Regions from separate parts of the Homo sapiens genome. Here region 1 is linked to region 2. The links are contacts of gene promoters, found by promoter capture Hi-C in human tissues and cell types (Jung and others, 2019). All regions are on one chromosome and are shown on one strand. The core of a region is centred on a gene start or on the middle of the fragment in contact, and the rest is flanking DNA. Distances in the headings are between cores, read along the strand shown. Region 1 has its middle 7.6 kb from the start of GPHN. Region 2 holds the start of PIGH (phosphatidylinositol glycan anchor biosynthesis class H).

The links. The method cuts DNA at HindIII sites, captures the fragments that hold promoters and counts their contacts. A contact is called where the count stands out against the background at its distance.
Region 1: a contact is called between a fragment that was not itself captured here and the fragment with the promoter of PIGH in region 2, in 1 of the 25 tissues and cell types used here (lymphoblastoid cells).

Annotation. Positions count from the first base shown.
Region 1 is chr14:66,498,702-66,502,305 of GRCh38, reverse strand. No RefSeq gene overlaps it. Among named protein-coding and RNA genes, the nearest start is that of GPHN, 7.6 kb to the left of the region's middle. The HindIII fragment of the contact is 5,867 bases long and covers 1-3,604 here.
Region 2 is chr14:67,599,018-67,602,607 of GRCh38, reverse strand. PIGH (phosphatidylinositol glycan anchor biosynthesis class H) reads left to right here and starts at 2,340. Exons shown (of 4, transcript NM_004569.5): 1 at 2,340-2,584. The coding sequence starts at 2,405. It also overlaps a transcript of GPHN not described here. RefSeq lists an enhancer at 2,343-2,662. The HindIII fragment of the contact is 9,090 bases long and covers 1-3,590 here.

The DNA of each region.
Region 1 (3,604 bases), core at 865-3,364, 1.1 Mb after region 2:
AGTCCAAGCTTAAAAACTGACATGGATTGACTTTAAGTGGACCTTTTAAAAAATCAAAAGCATCATGCTTTTCTACCATTATTCATTGGTTTCTATGTAACTAAAATTTATCTTAAAACCCAGCATCCCCAGAAAAATATTTTTCCTTAAAAAGCAACGTACAAAACAAAAATTATTTTGTTAACCTAAGTAATCTCACTTTCCCTAGGTTGACTAATAATTGGGAGAAATATAGTTTCTAGGAATGTTTATATCATGTTTTATACTTAAAATGAAACTTAAGTTTTCATGTTAGGAATCATAAGTGAATTTGTGAAAGAAGTAGAGAAGATGGATTTTTAGTTGTCCTGAAAAATTCTCACTTTTGCCATGTAATAATTATATTTCATATGTATCTGCCTGTGCATCTCCTGCCGTGAAATTGACTGGTTGCAGACCAAGCCTCCCTTTCCAGCACGGGACCTTGTTCTCTTCCCATTTCCTAATATTTGTTGACTAAATACAGAACATATGAATCAACAGGGACTTTGAATTGGTAGCAATGCAGGCTCCTTCCAAGGTGCCAGAGGGACCAATAGAGATTTTACTTGGCGTGCAACAGGTTACAGAAGCCTCTACCAATAAAAGGAGAGACACCACCTAAGGTGGCCACTGTTCACATAAACAACACTAAAACTAGATTTTCTGCCTGGATCTACGAGTGTAAGGCAAAATGTTATGTGTTGTCGCTTCCCCTCTTTGATTATTGCAATTCTAGACTAAAGATGAAAGTATCAGGCTGTTGTTGGCCTTATTTCATTTAGGAAGTGTGACAGACATTACTAATCACTTTCTGGCAATGCAAAAAGGCAACTTTTTGGGATAGAATGTTAGCTGATATCCTCTGCATGGCTAGAAAGTCAAGATAAAATAAATGAGATAAGTTACAAAAATAGTCTACCCAAAGTTACGATTTGTAAATGTATTGCTGGTGGGACAGGTTTTTCCTCAATTGACCTTGAAATTGAAAAGTATTGCCCATATGTGGTTAAGGTTATCAGAGATTTTATTCTCAGAGGAATATAATCAGAATATTATGAGCACAAATAAAACTATAATAATGATGTTTCAATCCCAAGTACTTTTTGATTACTAGTTCAGTTTACTATAACTTGATTTGGAGATAGGAATACCCTAAATATAGACATATTCCCACCAAATTGTAAGGTAATAGCCCTCTCTGTAATTTAATATTGGGTGTATCAGTTAATCTCTTGGGAGTTTGAGTAGCTTGAATAAGTCTCTGACCTTTTGAATAAGTTGACCATATAAATTTGTCTGTACTCACAAAACTGAGATCCATTTCCTGGATTCACTGAAATGCAGACACTCATGAGGAGTCACCCAATCTAACTGATAACTTTATACTGCCCTTATGAAAGTCAGAGTCCAATATAAAGTCCTAAAGACAAAGTAGGATAACAGGCTATCCCAGTTTTGTGTTTTGAAAAAATTGAAAGGTTTGGAACATTTGAAGGAAAGATGTTAAGCCTGACTGGTAATGAACATAAAATGTAAATACTTTGGCAATGGCAAATAATTCACTTTTTAAGAAGTTACAACCTCAGCTACCAAGTAAACTACTTTATTCCATGCCTTAGTTAACAACAAACAAGAAAAAAAAAAAAAAGGAGGGAGGTCATATACGAATTCAAACTCACTGTAGTGGTTAAAAAAAAAAACAAACCCATAATTTTAAAACATTCAAATGATGCTCTTTTAATTTAATTTTAAAATTGGGAATCTAAAGCCCTGAGGTTAAATGACTAGTTCAAGGTAATCAGTAGTACATTCAGATTTTATATTTTCATCTTTTGTTCTCATTGCTCTGTCTAATCCAATTGACTTGGAAAATCTCTCAGGACTGCCAGAATCTCCCAGGGACTAAATAAGTACAGTGATGGCTTTCTTGAAACAATGTAAATTACATACTCCACTAACTCAGTTGGTAGAATATTAAACTAATCACCTCAGGGTTTTAGAGGCCATTATTTTTGTGGTTAGGAGAGGAAAGATACAATTTAGATTGGAATATGAACTGGCAGTATTAATACCTAGGCTCTGGTAACCAGCCCTGGCCCCAATTAACTGTAGGAATTTAGACACCTTTTCAATGTATCTGAACTCCAGTATCCTTTTTTGGAAAGTGAAGGAAACTTTATAGTTATTTAAAGTTCCTTCTAATGCCAAAATTCTGTGATTTCTTGTAAACCGTTTCCAGTGCAAAAGTACATTTAAAAATTCATATTTAAAATGCATCTTTAAAGATTTAAATTGACATTGAGAAAAAGAAGATTTTGAATTGGCTGGCTCACTTTGCTTATTACCAGAAAGTATGAGGGATTCCTACAGATTATGAAGTGTTTTGTGACAAATCAACTCTTCTATACTGACATGAGATAGGAAATTAATGACAACTTAGAGTGAAAGAAAATATCTGAAGATCTCAGGAACTATGATATAATCCCGTGGTAATTAACACAAGGCAAGACATCGAGAGACCTGGGACTTGGAAATTAACTTTCTGTGGCCTTCTACATATCATTTACTGAGCCTCTTTAAAATGCTAGGCACTGTGTTAAGCAGTCAAAATGAAAAGATAGCAAGATAGAATCCTGGCCCTCAAAGAGCTCACCACCTGATGAGGAAGGTAGCTGGATAAACCAATAATTGCGATAGAGTTCAATTAGTGCTGTGACAGAAGTAAGAGAGCCTAGCAACAAGTCTCAAACCTGATTGCCCATTAGAATTTCTTGAGAAGCTTTTAAAAAATACGGATGCTTTTGCCCTATCGCTCAGTTACCATAATTTAAATTATCAGGGGCGGGGCCCAGTAGAATGCTATTTTTCAAAGCTCTTAAGGGGATTCCAATACACAGCTAGGATTGAGTATCAGTGGGATAGAAGGGCAGCACATTCAGTCCTTAAGACAAACAGGCAATGGTCATAGCTAAAGGAGAGAAGTATCCTTCCACTTTGTGCATGGACCTAATAGAACTAATGATACATGGGGAGAACTGTAAATATTAATAGTAATGTGGAGCTCAATGTGGGATGTATGAGAAAAGGGGGACATAGTGAAAGATGAGACAGAGAAGGTAGGCAGGAGGCATATCATTTATGGTCTGTGAAGGACCTTGGACTTCAGCGAGAAACCAGTAGGGGAATGACATGATCTCATTTATCTTTTATAAAAGATAGCTTCAGTGGTACTGTGGAAGATGAATTAGAGGAACTGGAAGCAGGGGAAACCAATTAAGAGGCTATGGTAATCCAGGCAGGAAGGAGGGCCTGGGGAAAAAAACAAAAACAAAAACAAAACCACAGTGGTACTAGGAAAGTGGATGATATTCAAGGAATAGATAACAAGGAGGCAGAATCAACAGGTCATTTTGATGTTTTTGGTGAGAGAGTAAAAGAAGTCTGTGGTATATAATTTTACTTATTTTATACCTACTTTTTCTCATTTCCCACTGTTGGATCTGTCCACAATTACATACTTCAGAAGTGGAGAGAAGCTCCTTTTTATGGACTTAGTAAAAACATATTGTATAATGTGGTTGAA
Region 2 (3,590 bases), core at 1,091-3,590:
GCCCAAGTTAAGAACTCCAGGACTACAGGCTTCCCCAAAACATTAACAGTACTTATCTCTGAGTGATGGAAATATGGGTGGTTTACATTTTTTTCTTTTCTGTATTTTTCAAATTTTCCACAATAAGCAAATATCACTTTTATAATTATAAAACACATGATATATGCAATAGTAAAAGGGGTGATATGGTTCGGCTCTCTGTGCCTACCCAAATCTCATGTCAAATTGTAATCTCCACTTGTTAGGGGAGGGACCCAGTGGGAGGTGATTGGATCATGGGGACGGATTTCCCCCATGCTGGTCTCGTGATGCTGAGTGAGTTCTCTCACGAGATCTGACGGTTTAAAAATGTGGCACTTCCCCACTCCCCTCCTGCTGCCATGTAAGACATGCCTGGCTTCCCCTTTGCCTTCCACCATTATTGTAAGTTTCCTGAGGCCTTGCCAGCCATGTGGAACTGTGAGTCAATAAACCTCTTTTCTTTATAAATTACCGAGTCTCAGGTAGTTCTTTATAGCAGTGTGAAAACGGACTAATAAAAGGAGTGTATTAATTGTCAGATTCGGGGCACAGAAATAAAACTAGAAAAATAAAGAAGTGCTTGAAGAAATCCTTTAGGAAAAAAGAAAGGGAAATAAAATTCTGAATGAAGATGAAGAAACGGAACCTTTCATCAGAGAGACTTAAAGCTGGTGAGACCTTTATGCCATGGATCTTTTTTTTTTTTTAAATGAATATAGACACAGTCTTGCTCTGTTGCCCAGGCTGGTCTTGAACTCCTAAGTTCAAGTGATTCTCCTGCCTCAGCCACCCGAACAGCTGGGATTACAGGCATGCTCCACCATGCCCAGGTAATTTTTTTGTATTTTTAGTAGAGATGGTTTCACCATGTTGGCCAGGCTGATCTTGAACTCCTGACCCAAGTGATCTGCCCTCCTCAGCCTCCCAAAGTGCTGAGATTACAGGCATGTGCCACCATGCCCAGCCCATCACAAGTGTTTTGACAGTCCACATAGCCACTCCTGGGCCACATCAGAAGTAAAAATGGAACTCATAGGCCACTATTACTCATGAGTTTAGTAATTTTATTATCCATTTCTTCTGCATCTCCCGCTCCTGCTTAATTCCCAGCCAGGTCTTGCCTGTCTACCACGGTCCAAGCAGTCATTTGGGAGACAGAACTCCCAGGCAGTGAAATCCAAACTCCTTACCAGACCCTACAAGACCCTCTTGGATCTGACCCCTACCTGCCTCCCCAGCTTCCAACTGTTTTCCCCACACACCAACCTTTCTCGCCTTTTGATTATTTCATTAAGCCAAGCTTGTTCCAACTTCGAGGGGTTTGCCTTTCCTGGTCTTTCTTTCTGGCAAATTCCTCCTCCAGAGCTCCTTCAGTCCTGTCTGGCTCGTCACCCTTGTAACTCAGTGTCCTCTTACTTAGAGACTTCGCCTGACTGCCCTATGTAAAGTCCTCAGTCCATCCCTGCCAGTCAGCATAGTATTGCCAACGATACTCTCTTATTTCCATATTGTCTCCTACTAGAAAGGAAGCTGCCCGAGGGCAGAGACTGTCATCAACATCGTTCACTGCTGCATCCTCAAGCACCTCAAACTACCCGGCACAGGAAAAGAGTAAGTGAAATGAATACCCGTGGGCTCTCCTTGCGGCTCACTCTGGCTTAGAGAAATCGGCTTGCCAAGCAAAAGCATGATTAAAACTGTGGGTTTGGGCTGGGTGCGGTGGCTCACGCCTGTAATCCCAGCACTTCGGGAGGCCGAGGCGGGCGAATCACCTGAGGTCAGGAGTTTGAGACCAACCTGGCCAACATGGTGAAACCTGTCTCTACTAAAAATACAAAAATCAGCAGGGCGTGGTGGCGCGCGCCTGTAATCCCAGCTACTCAGGAGGCTTAGGCAGGAGAATCGCTTGAACCCGGGGGAAGCAGGTTGCAGTGAGCCGACGTCGCGCCATTCCGTCTCAAAACAAAAACAAACTGTGGGTTTGTTTTGAGACAGGGTCTTGCTCTCTCGCACAGGCTAGAGAGCAGGGGCATGATCTCCGCTCACTGCAACCTCGACCTCCCAGGCTCAAGCGATCCTCCCGCCTTGGCCTCCCAGTGCTGGACTACAGGCCTGAGTCAACGCGCCCGGTCTAAAAACGATTTTAATCTTTCCACTTAACTATTGCCCCGACGAGGTTTTTTCGAAGACAGTCAAGGCCGGCCCGGAAGAACGCACAACCATCAGCCCCCAGCAGAGCTCTCGGCGCGCAACTGAGGCTGCGCAGGCTTAGGGCGGGGCGTGGTGACGCGGCTGCCGGAAGCGGGTCTGGAGCGGGCGAGACGGCCAGGGCCGGCGAGCGCAGTGCAGCGCCGCGCGGTGCGGGCGGCCGAGTGGGGGCGTCATGGAGGATGAGCGGAGCTTTTCGGATATCTGCGGCGGCCGCCTGGCGCTGCAGCGCCGCTACTACTCCCCGTCCTGCCGGGAATTCTGCCTCAGCTGCCCTCGGCTCTCGCTGCGTTCGCTCACCGCTGTCACCTGCACGGTGTGGCTGGCGGCCTACGGACTCTTCACCCTCTGCGAGGTAATGGCAAGTCGGCCCCTCCCCGCGCTCGAAGGAGGGGGTTCGGCTTTGGGAGGGTCTTTGGGGTCTTTGGTCGAGCCCGGACCTCTGGTCGGCCCCTCCTACAGTGATAGGACAGGAGGGCGGGAACTCACGGGTTCTGGGGACGATATTCCGCTGCTGGACAGCTCTTTAAATGACGTTTAGTGAAATGTGTGCTCCTGGATAGTACATTCCCCTTCCGTGGCTGTGCTCTGCTCCGTGGGTTCACTCAGCATACATCTAGTTCTTGCGCGACGGCCTAAAACTTTAACTGCCATGTGTTCTATGTAGTATAGGCGCGCAGTAATTTAATTCCAAGAGTTCAAGGAACTACTAAGTGGGTCTTCCTCGTCCATCCCTTCTGCTCCTCAAAGTAGTACTGCTAACAATACTTTACGTAGACTTCCACAAACTGTCTTTGCCTCCACAAGTGTGTGTGTTTATCTGTGTGTATAGATAGAGTGTTATAGTTCTTCCTAATCTCTGTTTTTCAAGGGAGTTTTTTAACCCTCCCTCCTCCCAAACCCTTCCCCAATTTCAAGTACTTTCTAAAGGTTTATGAAATTTTGGACGTGTGTGATAGCTGTGCTCAATTTCCAGATTCATTCCTGTTTTCTCTGAGCCTCAATTTTCTACATCTCTAAAATAGAATTCATGCCTGCCATACCAGCTTCATGATATTGTGAGGGTTAAATGCAGTAACTTTGTGACAGCTCTCAAATAAAAAGAATTATCCTAATTTTCAGGATAAGTTCTAGTTTCATATGTAGTGCCTGAATTGAATGTATTATCCCAGAAGTGATCTAATCAGAGCTAAGTACAGCAGGGCTATTTATTTTTGTAACTTGGATATTGTTTCCATTACTGCATCCATTCGCTTTTTTGCTGTCAAAGCGTGTTTCAGAGCATGGTAATTTAGCATAGAAATATGCAGAATTAAGACTGCCCTAATTGCAGGAAACTATCTAACTATCTAAACCGTATG